Regions from separate parts of the Homo sapiens genome. Here region 2 is linked to region 1. Evidence: promoter capture Hi-C in 16 types of primary human blood cells and fetal thymus (Javierre and others, 2016). All regions are on one chromosome and are shown on one strand. The core of a region is centred on a gene start or on the middle of the fragment in contact, and the rest is flanking DNA. Distances in the headings are between cores, read along the strand shown.

The links. Contacts are between HindIII fragments. The CHiCAGO score rates a contact against its expected background, and 5 or more counts as called.
Region 2: a fragment that was not itself captured here is called in contact with the fragment with the promoter of BIK in region 1 in 2 of 17 cell types (neutrophils and naive B cells); the score reaches 5.8 in neutrophils.

The regions. Positions count from the first base shown.
Region 1 is chr22:43,108,976-43,114,456 of GRCh38, reverse strand. It overlaps BIK (BCL2 interacting killer), which reads right to left and starts at 3,707. Exons shown (of 5, transcript NM_001197.5): 1 at 3,654-3,707. RefSeq lists silencers at 2,838-3,057, 3,588-3,757 and an enhancer at 3,082-3,640. The HindIII fragment of the contact is 21,199 bases long and covers 1-3,916 here.
Region 2 is chr22:42,869,299-42,875,149 of GRCh38, reverse strand. It overlaps PACSIN2 (protein kinase C and casein kinase substrate in neurons 2), which reads left to right. Exons shown (of 11, transcript NM_001184970.3): 11 at 3,681-5,377. The coding sequence ends at 3,793. It overlaps LOC101927393 (a long non-coding RNA gene), which reads right to left and starts at 3,736. Exons shown (of 3, transcript XR_001755575.2): 1 at 3,647-3,736; 2 at 3,065-3,165; 3 at 1-2,658. The HindIII fragment of the contact is 295 bases long and covers 4,178-4,472 here.

The DNA of each region.
Region 1 (5,481 bases), core at 2,458-4,957:
GTGGCACGCGCCTGTAATCTCAGCTACTCGGGAGGCTGAGGCAGGAGAATCACCTGAACCCGGGAGGCAGAGGTTGCAGTGAGCTGAGATCACACCACTGCACTCCAGCCTGGGCAACAGAGCAAGACTCCATCTCGGGGAGGGGGCGGTCAAGAATACTTGATCTTAAATATCCAAAATGACAGGGACCCTCACTCAAATAAACAAGTGAGCTTTTCTCTCTTTGCTGCATGGCTTTTCAGTTTGGCTAACTGGGTGCCAAGTTCTGTCCCACCCCCAGAAAAACAGGTTTACCATGCAGTGCCTGGCGAGGCCCAGTGGTGTTTTGTATTGTCACATCCTAATATTGACACTAGGAAAATCAGCTGCCCTGTGTGCCCGCCCCTCTCCTGCCTGCCTCGGGGCCAACAAGGAACTTAGGGGCCACGGACTGATTTGCTCACATTCTATGTTTCTCCCAGGGCCCAGCCCCAACCAACCAGTGGCAGGACAAAGGGAGGCTAGGAAGTGGCCACATGTGTCCAGTTCAGACACACTGCTGGCTTCCTGGTGACCACCAACAGTAAGACTGGTGCGGAGACTTCCTCCATACGGCTCAAACTGTTCTGAGCACAGACGGTAGTCAAAATCTCATGGGATCCGCTAAGTCTGCAGCAGGGGAAGCAAAAAGCCATTAATTGTCTACACATTTAATAGGTTCACTAAAAACAGGATGCTTTCCAGGGAGAGGGGAAAATACCACCAGCAGTGGTGTCAGCTTCAAGACTCACTGGCCAATCAAGCCCTTCCTCAATTACATCCTTCCGTTGAGACGGGATCAGAAATGGGGGAAAAAAAAAGTACACGGTTATGAGTAGTCTCTGGTTTATCTGCAGCTCTGTGACACAAGACGTAATTTTTTTTTTTTTGAGATGGAGTCTCACGTTAGCCCAGGCTGAGTGCAGTGGCACCATCTCTGCTCACTGCAATCTCCGCCTCCTGGGTTCAAGCAATTCTCCCGCCTTAGCCTCCCAAAGTGCTGGGATTACAGGCAAGTCAAATGTGTAAGAATCTTGAGCCGGGTGAGGTGGCTCACGCCTGTATTCCCAGCCATTGCACTCCAGCCTGGGCAACAAGAGCGAAACTCCGTCTCAAAAAAACAAACAAACTTACAATAACTAACATGTATGCAGCCTCTCTATCCAGCCATAGAGTACCCAAGCTGTAACAGACACTGGGGATCTACCATTTGATGCTTTTTTAAATTTTCTTTTGACAGAGAGTCTCCCTATGTGGCCCAGGCTGGAGTGCCATGGTGTGATCTCCGCTCAGTGCAACCTCTGCCTCCCAGATTCAAGCAGTTCTCCTGCCTCAGCCTCCCAAGTAGCTGGGATTACAGACACACGCCACCACGACCGGCTAATTTTTGCATTTTTAAAAGAGACTGGTTTTGCCATGTTGGCCAGGCTCGTCTCACAACTCCTGACCTCAGGTGATCCATCTCCCTCGGCCTCCCAAAGTGCTAGGATTACAAATGTGAGCCACCATGCCCAGCCTAATGCTCCTTTTTTTGAGACAGGGTCTCACTCTGTCTCCCAGGCTAGAGTGCAGTGGCATGATCAGGGTTCACTGCAGCCTCAACCCCTCCAAGCTCAGGTAGGCCTCTGAACTCAGCCTCCTGCGTAGCTAGGACCAGAGGCACATGCCACCATGCCCGGTTAATTTTTTGTATTTTTGGTAGAGACAGGGTTTTACCATGTTACCCAGTCTGGTCTAGCCCAGTCTAGTCTCCTGAGCTCAAGCAATCCTCCTGCCTCAGCCTCCCAAAGTGCTAGGATTACAGGCACGAGTCAAATGTGTGAGAATCTTAGTCTTAACATCCTTAAGACAATTAAAAAAAAAAAAAGGGCCAGGCATAGGGGCTCACGTCTGTAATCCCAGCACCTTGGGAGGCTGAGGCAGGAGTATTTAAACACTCAAGCCGGGCGGGGTGGGTCACACCTGTAATCCCAGCACTTTGGGAGGCTGAGGCGGGTGGATCGCCTGAGGTCAGGAGTTCGAGACTAGCTTGGCCAACATGGTGAAACCCCATCTCTACTAAAAATACAAAAAATTAGCTGGGCCTCGTGGTAGGCGCCTGTAATCCCAGCTACTAGGAGGCTGAGGCAGGAGAACCGTTTGAACCCAGGAGGCCGAGGTTGCAGTTAGCCGAGACGGCGCCATTGCACTCCAGCCTGGGCAACAAGAGCGAAGCTCTGTTTCAAAAAAAAACAAAAAGAAACAAAAAACACCCAAACTGTGCCATTCCTGAGAACTTATTCCAAAGGCGTGCCCAAATTAAGTAGAAATCGGGGTGAGTCTTAACTCCAGGGAGGCTACTAACTTGAGAGGGGCTTTCACCTGGCCAGAAACCTCAGGGATACATTTTGCAGAGTGAACAGAACAAACTGAGGTTCAGAGAGATGGAGTGGCCCTTCCGAGGCCACAGGGCTGGAGAGTGGAAAGAGGTTTTGGCTTGGGTTCCATAAAGGGCCCTTGGCTTCTAGCTAGACAACCCTGGCATTTCTGTGCCTCCTGGGACTGAAATCTCTGTTTCTCCACCTGGAAGATGAGGCCTCCTGCTCCCAGGGGCAGACAGATGTTAAGAACTTCCCGGCGCTAGTGCCCACCAGACTGCGCTCCTCCTAATGCGGGGACATGAGGCTGACACCAATGCTCCCTGGGAAGCTCGGGCTCCCAGACCACAGTAAACACTGCGTTAAAACAGCAACAAAAATGTTACAATAGTAAGAGCTACAACAGTAACATCAACAACCACGTCCTACCCCACGAGTGGCTCATTCTAGCAAAATTGACAATGAAGGGCTTGAAAGCGATCGCATTTAGGAGGCCAGAGCCCAGACGACGACCAGCTCCGAACCCCACAAGCCTTGTCGTGACCGCGCCCCGCAGGCGGGGGGCCCCCTCGCGGGTCACCCGCAGGGGCGCACCTCCAATTTACCAAACAAGGTCGCATGCCCCAGCCGGGCTCTAGTCCCCGCCCAGTCTGGGGCGCACCTGTGCAGGGCGCGTGGGCAAGCGAGGGCGGGCGGCTGCGCGCCGCTCCGTGTGCACGTTCCTGTTCCGGACTTTCTGGGCGTCCCGTTACGAAGCCTTTCCTCGGCCCTTCCTCAGGTGCGCAGCGCCTCCGGGAGCCGGTCCCGGCGGCACCGGGCACGACGCCATCTTCCCTCTTTTAAGGGCACCGGGGCTGTGCGGCCGCGGCCGTGGGCTGGCGTTGCCGCGCTACGGTCTGGCCGGGTCCGCACGACCCCAGAGTTCGGAGCCGGGTGCCCGGAAGCCGCACTGGAGGACTGTGCGGCGGCGATGGGGCGTCCAGCCGTCGCGGCGAGACGCAGAGGGACCACCCCATTGCACAGGCGCGGAGACTGAGGCCCGCAGGGGCCGCGCCTGGCACGATCGCCCGTCGGGGACCTGGAGCCCCGGACAGAGAGGGTACGTTTCGGAGCCGGAGTCCCGAGACGTCGCCCCGCCAGCGACTTGCTGGAGCGGTAAAACCTGGGCACGGCTCCCCACACTTCCAGCCGCTCGGCACCCGGGCCGCGGCCTGGGCGCTAACCGCCGGGCTCGAGCTGGGCGGAGCAGCGGGCGGCAGCAGGGTCGGGGGCACTCACCTGGCGGCGGCGATGCTGGCAGCGTCTGTAAGCCACCCGGGAGGCTTCGTGTCTGCGGCCCGGCTGCCGGCGCGGGACCTAATAGGCCCGGGCGCCCCGCCCCTCCCGCCCCGCCCGGGTCCCGCCCCTCCCCGGGAGCGGCCTCTCGCACCCCGAGCGCGGAATCCCGGACTGGGGTCTGAATGGCATTGGCAACAGAACCGCTACAAGTGCAGCCCGTTGGCTTGTTTACAGCCTCTCTGCCCCCTGCTGTTCTGCAAGCTTGTTTTGTCCCGTGCGTCGCTGTTTCCCCTGCGCCCAGCACGGGCGTGCACTCAGGGGTTTCCATCAATATCGGGGGGATCGATCCATTGACAGAATCTGGCCCTTTACACGGATGGCCTCCGTTCGAGCTCAAAGTACTCCTCGGTGCTTTTTTTCACGATCATTTTACCCACGTGGAAACCGAGGCTCCAAGAGGACGAAATGACTTAAATGACAGCGTGAAGCCAGCGTTCAAAGACGTGTGCTCCTTAGGCTGGCAGCTTTGGGATTTAGGTGTTTTAAAGCCTATTTCACAAATATGAAAACCGAGGTTCACATTTGGTTAGCAGCAGCATCCAGTGATCCATACCCGAAGCCAGGGGGCTGCCCCTCCACTGCCGCCCGTCCGCAGCCTTCCAGCTGCATGACACACCCACTGCCTTCCCCCTCCCGTCGGGGCTCCGGGTCCGCGAGAGGCGGGCGGGACTGGGAGGGATTGGGGGCAGGGGGCTCACGTGCAGACCTGGTGAGACGGACCCCACAGCGCCTGGCGGGGCGAACAGAGAAATCAGAAAGCTTCCAGGCGGGGTGGGCGGGTGGGCAGCCTGCTACGCGGGGATGGGTAGGACCTAACTCCAGCCCTGGGGTATATTGGGGGTGGGAGAAGGCAGAGCGCTCCTGGAATAACAAAGTAACAATTGTCCTGGGCACGGCAAAGCTTGTTTACTTCTGTCTTGATCCCCTCAGAGATTAGGGGAGGGGCAGGGACAGGGGTTCCCCTCCCCCAGCTCTGTCGTTTGCTACCTGTTGGGTACCCTCACTCTGTTCTTCCCACCTCTAGGGTAATTACTTCCCCTTCAATGTTCTCATCTGTGAAATGGACAACAGCACCTACCAAGAGCTGGGCTGTTGGGAGGAACAGAGGAGGTAAAGTGTGATAAAGTCTTCAGAGCCCCTCCCGCCTTCCGGGCTCTGGACCTTCTTTGCTTTTGTGGGGTTTTTTTGTTTGTTTTTGTTTTTGTTTTTTTGAGACAGAGTCTAGCCCTGTTGCCCAGGCTGGAGTGCAGTGGCACAATCTTGGCTCACTGCAACGTCTGTCTCCCAGGTTGAAGCAATCCTCCCGCCTCAGCCCCCCTAGTAGCTGGATTACAGGCGTGTGCCACCATGCCCGGCTAGTTTTTGTATTTTTAGTAGAGACGGGGTTTTGCCATATTGGCCAGGCTGGTCTTGAACTCCTGACACCAGGTGATCCACCGGCCTCGGGCTCCCAAAGTGCTGGGATTACAGGCGTGAGCCACCACTCCCGGCCCTGTAGTCTTTTCTTCTAGGGCCTCCAAACTACATCAACCCCTACAAAGCAGCTCGCCCTGACTGTGGCTAACAGCCACAGAGTGCCTTACAGTCAGGAGCAGGGAACCCTTCATAATGGGGGCTTCCCTCTGAATGCATTTTGCAGATGAAAAAATTGAGACTCAGGGAGGTAAAGCAATGACACGGGGTCTCATGGGTCCGAAAGACCTGATATATGTGAGATGCTTGCAGAGGGGTCTTAAGGCTGGAGGCACAGTGCCAGGTATGTAGGAGA
Region 2 (5,851 bases), core at 3,076-5,575, 240 kb after region 1:
GGCTGGGCATGGTGGCTCACGCCTGTAATCCCAGCACTTTGGGAGGCCGAGGCACACAGATCACGAGGTCAGGAGATTGAGACCATCCTGGCTAAGAGTGTGAAACCCCGTCTCTACTAAAAATACAAAAAATTAGCCGGGCGTGGTGGCAGCCGCCTGTAGTCCCAGCTACTCGGGAGGCTGACGCAGGAAAATTGCTTGAACCCGGGAGGCGGAGCTTGCAGTGAGCCGAGATTGCGCCACTGCACTCCAGCCTGGGCGACAGAGCAAAACTCTTTTTCAAAAAAAAAAAAAAAAGCGGATGCCCAATGCCAAGACTCAGAAATAGTGAGGTGCTGCCAAGCCAGTGCCTGGACTCCTCACCTTGCTGGGCCAAGGCTGTGAATTGCAGGGCACTGGCTAGTCACACAGAAGGGCATCTGGAGAAGCTGTTGGCCAGGACCACCAGGTTCCCCCATATGTAGTCTGGGAGCTGCTAGCCCCGCAGGGCCATGAGAGAAGCCTTTCTCTAGGGGTCCCCAACTGCCAGAGAAGCCCTCAGGAGAGCCACAGCTTTGCCCAGACCCCAGAGTAGCACTTGGCATGCCCCTGGGCCAGGTGGGGCCTTGTCTCAGGCAGCAACTTGTGTGTGTGCACACCTACCTGCCCACACCTACCATGCACACACCAACCCACACACATATCTGTGTTGCTAGGAGCAGAAACCATAGTTTTATAAAACAGCCTGGATCCTGATTACATGTGCTCTGCCTGTGAAGACTTTCTGTGCAATGTCTTTTTCTTCTTTGAATGGTCTTCAATGATAATCTTTTTTTTTTTTTTTTTTAATAGAGACACGGTCTCACTCTGTTAGCCAAGCTGGGTTACAGTGGTGCGATCATAGCTCACAGCAGCTGCAGCCTTGATCTCCTGGGCTCAAGCAGTCCTCCCACCTCAGCCTCCTACGTAGCTGGGACCACAGATGTGTGCTACCACCCCACCCACTATAGGAATCTTTTTTAATGCATTTGCAGTTTACCAAAATGGCTTTTCACATCTTCAATTTGAAAAGTGTTATCTTGTCCGGGCACGATGGCTCACACCTGTAATCCCAGCACTTTGCGAGGCCAAGGCCGAAGGATCACTTGAGGTCAGGAGTTTGAGACCAGCCTGGCCAACATGGTGAAACCCTGCCTCTATTAAAAAATAAAAAAATTATTCAGGCATGGTGGCACACACCTGTAATCCCAGCTACTGGGGAGGCCAAGAGAATCACTTGAACCTGGGAGGTGGAGGTTGCAGTGAGCTGAGATCATACCACTGCACTCCAGCCTGGGTGATGGAGTGACACTCTGTCTCAAAAAAAAAAAAAGGAAAGAAAATTGCTATCTTAGCACCTAAGGAAGCTGGAGTGGCCTAGGGCCAAAGTGGACCCACAGCAACCCAGATTCTTCCCTCTCTTGCCCTCTTTGTGAAGCTCCCCCAGAAGCAGCATCTACCACTCCAAGAGGGAAGCTGGGCCAGAACTCAACCCACACAGGCTGAAGTGTGCCCTTGCCCCTAGGCTACACTTGTGGGAAAGGCTGCCTTACCACCACCACCCCAACCCCTGACTCAGCAGGGAAGCCAGGGCCTGGGGGCTGTGCCCAATGGCCTAGCTTCTAACCAGTCTTCAGCCTCCTCCCCTCAGCACCCAGAGTGCCAGCCTGCTGTCCCCAGACACTCTTCCCCTGGGCTGGTTATCAGCTGCCTCTGCCCAGTTTGAGAAGTTGGGTTTTTTTGTTTTTTTGGATTTTTTTTTAATGTGCCTTTAAGCCATCTTCATCCAGTTTCTGATATCTTTGGTTGGGGTTGTTACCCCCGACTTTGTTGGTTTATTTGTTTATAATTTCTAACTCCTTTTCAATCCTGCCTATTGGGTTTGACAGTAATTTTGTAGATTTAAAATGTTTCTTCCAGATCCAAGTAAATTGTCAAAAGCAAACTGATTGAAATGAACCTTCTAATCACCAGTTCACATTTGCACAATGTGAAAGCTTTCCTGTCCGTTCTATTTTCTGTGTTATCCTGCTTTTTAACAATGCAAAATTAGCTCCCAGCCAGTGTGGCTTGACTTACGTCTCTTGCGGTGTTCTGGCTGTTTGCCACATGGTAGTGTGGGGTTACAGGCCTCATCCTAGCCTCGGTAGCCTGGATCCAGGCCTGTGAGAGCACAGCAACCAATGAAGGCAGGACAAAAGAAACGCCAGGGGCCCGAGGCACGAAGCGGTGGAAAGAGATGGTGGTTCATCGTGGCTGCTGCCCTGTGGCCCCTGCATCTGCTCCTGATGCCTCTGGGTTAGATCTGCAGGCGCACTGGTCTGGCAGAAGCGGCACGACAGTGGGAGGCTGAGCCAGTGCTTACGCATGTCCCACCCTCCCAGGGTTCTTTAGTGTCTTAACACTTAATCTTCACAGTACCCCCAGTCCACAGATGAGGGCCACAGGCCCAGGGAGTGGACGCAGTTGGTCCAGGTCTCCCAGCCAGTGAGTGATGGCTGTGGGATTTGAGCCCAGGCAGTCCGGGGAGCACTGGAAGCCCCAGGTATTAGCTCCGCAGGCATGTTGACCAGCATTGCTGCCATACAAAATCCAAAGCATCAGGGAAATGCTAAACCAGGGGGAAAACTGCATCTAATTCTGAAAAATGGACCAAAAAATGCCAAAGAGAGTTACAAAACTTCAAACTTAGCAATAAAGGCAAAACAGCACTGGGACTATTTCTTTCCCACCAATTGCTTGCTCCTGACGAGGTCCGAGCCAGCAGGCCCAACTGGCCTTCCCTGCAGTGAGTTACCAACCAGAAGCACACAGGCCCCTGCCCACCCCTGGGCTCTGAGCTGCTCTGCTTCCCTAACCTGGCAAATGCCAGACCTGGGGCCCTACCCTAGTGCCACCTCCCCCTCACCACCCTAGTCTGCCTCCTTGAGACCAGGATCCATCAGTTCCTCTCATCTCTGTATCTCCTCTTCTACCCAAGGCCTGGCCAGAAGTAGGAGGTCCTTCAGGTTGGAACAACCAAAGATAAATGGAACCACGTTAATACATTAGAGCCACAGGGAGATTCCAGAACAGCGCCAGGGGCTCCTTCTCAGGGTCTCAGGAAGGGTTGACACATGGCACCGTGCACAAGTCATCAGCCAGGTGCTGGGGATAAAATGACAGGTATGACTGTCAGACATGGTCCCTTCCCCTCGCAGCCTGGAAGTTGCAGAGGAGAGGGATTAGCAAAGGCAGAGAGACCCCAGAGACAGCTGCTGGGAGCAAGGCGGCCGGGGCCCTGGGGAGGGGACAGAAGAGGCCCAACGTGAGGGAGGGGCACAACCGAGGGACGATTCCTGCCACCTGGCCAGGGTGGTGAGGAAGGCACAGCCCTATGGAGCTGGATGCCGCAGTCTCAGTGGGAGCCACTGTGGCAGCTGAGAGCAGCTTGTTCCAAATTACTGTGTGAGACTGTCATCTCTAGGTCTGTCAGAGGCCCATGACCAAAGAGGCAACTTAAAATGCATGCATTTAGTAGAGAAATGACCAGGCCCTCGGCCTGCCCGCCACAGAATGCCTGGCCCTCCACCCTCTGTGGGCTCAAAGCTCGTGAATGCGGCTCTGTAGCCCACCGTCGGTGTCATACCTCTCATGGAGACGGCTCCCTCTTTGTCTTGCAGGGGATGAGCTGACCAAGATGGAGGACGAGGATGAGCAGGGCTGGTGCAAGGGACGCTTGGACAACGGGCAAGTTGGCCTATACCCGGCAAATTATGTGGAGGCGATCCAGTGATGAGTCGGGGACAGGCCAGCGGGGGGACGGAGGCGGCGGGCCCAGGAGCCTCAGCCAGCCACGTGGGCATCCACTCCTTTTCCTGCAAGAGATGATGGTTCCATTGCTCTTGGCTTCATGGTGTTCCTGGAAGGCAGATGAGCTGGTCATTTCGCCTGGGACTCGGCACCTTTCCGAGTGCAGCTGGAGGGATCTGAGCGCAGGAAGACGCAGAACAACAGAAATAGCCGCCCCTCCCCGCCCACTGTGCCTGTTGGCCTATCATAGATCTCTATGTTCTTGACTTTGTCTCTCCTTTCCGAGTCAATGGTGGGTTACACTGATCTTGTTCCACTGATTACTCTCTCTGACGAGTCCATCACCTGCAACTTAAATGAACAAGCTTACATCCCATTTTGAGTGAAGATTTTGAGGTTTTTAATTTAAAGGCTGTGTACAGTTATACTTTTTTATACACCTGTTCATTTCTACTTAAATTATGGCACAGATTGATGCGCACCAGTCTTGAGGAAACGATCTCCCTATTCCCTTACCCTGTTACTCAGCCACGCCGTGTGTAGGCTTAGCCTCAGGTGGCAGATGTTTGAGGAAAGGAATTATGCCAGGAAGGTGGGACCGGGTTATGGTCGGGTTTCTATTGGGAATGCTCTTTGTGCTTTTGGGCATCTGAATGGAAGCTTTACATAGAACCTTAGGTAGAACTCCCCCAAATCGCCATATTTAAAAATTATTTTCACTCTATTCTTGCTTAAAACTGTACTCTTTTGCAAATTAACAATTTTATCACTGATTCAGAGTTAAAAAGAAGACTAACTTTTCAAGCAAATGCATCTGTAAAGATGCTTTAGATTAGACTGTCATGTCTCAGTGTCTATCTGTATATATTATTTGATATTCAGAGAATCTAAAGCACTCGTCTACTGTTTTAATGAGATTTAACAGCTTTTAACAGTGAGTTTCGTTTGTAAACTGCTTGAAGTCTGTGGCATTCAGGCACACGTCTGGCTGGCCGGCTGGGTCTCCTCCCGGGCTCAGTGGGCCTGGGGCCTCTCTGACGTGGTGCCTGCTGGAGGGAGGCTCGTCGTCACCAGCTGACTGCTGGTCCGGCTTCTGACCGGCCTTTGTCCTGGCTCCGTAGCAGAACACTGTAAAAGTGCCCGCGTCTTTGCAGTAGTTGCAGATTTCAGTCGTCGTGTTACTTGTGCACAAACAGAAGCTGGGTCTTACCCGCAGCACGAGTGTCTCGGGCTGCCCGGAGTCGCCCGGGAGCAGGTGCTGCAGCCAGAGTTACGCGGGGGCCACGCGGGCCGGCGGGGGTGGGGGGAACGTGGGGGAACCTGTGTTTCACGTGACTCAGCAGTGCCCGCCGCCGTCACCAGCTATGCATTCACTCCGTTTCCAGTGAGCAGATGTCTTGCTTGGAAAGTGGACCTGTGTCTGTGTCTGTCCTGAGAACTTACCAGCAGAAATCCTCATTTCTGTGCTACGGATTTACCAAAAATTGTCAAGTCTTTTTCAGTTTAACAGTTCCTTTACATGTGTAGTATTTGAGGAAAAAAATCAATAAACAGTTGATCTCGTGCATATGGAAGTCCCTTCGCCATCATCTGTCTTCATGCCCACTTCACTTGGCGGGGGTGGCCTCCCTGGGGCTTACTAGCTTTGGAGCTGGGCAAGATCCAGGGCACAGGACCCCTGCCCAAAAGGCCACGGCCCACTGCCCCTGCCAAACTGGAGGTTGGGGATTTGAGGCACCTGAGCCCCTTGGGGTTCCCTTCTCCCCGAGACCTGCTGCTGTTTGACCTGGGCTTCCACATGGTGCGGGCATCGGCTGGCGCCTCTCTATTGCCCCAGCCCAAACAGCAGGACAAGACTGACATCACCCATAACTCTCCTATGAGCACATTTTCCTGAGCACCTACTGTGTGCTCTCCACTTTTTACTTACATTATCTGCGTCTCCAAACATCTCCACAGGGTATGGGCAAGTCTCCCCATTTCCATTCTACCGAGGAGGAAACAGAGGCTCCAAGAGCCAGCCAGGGTTTCTTGAGGAGTC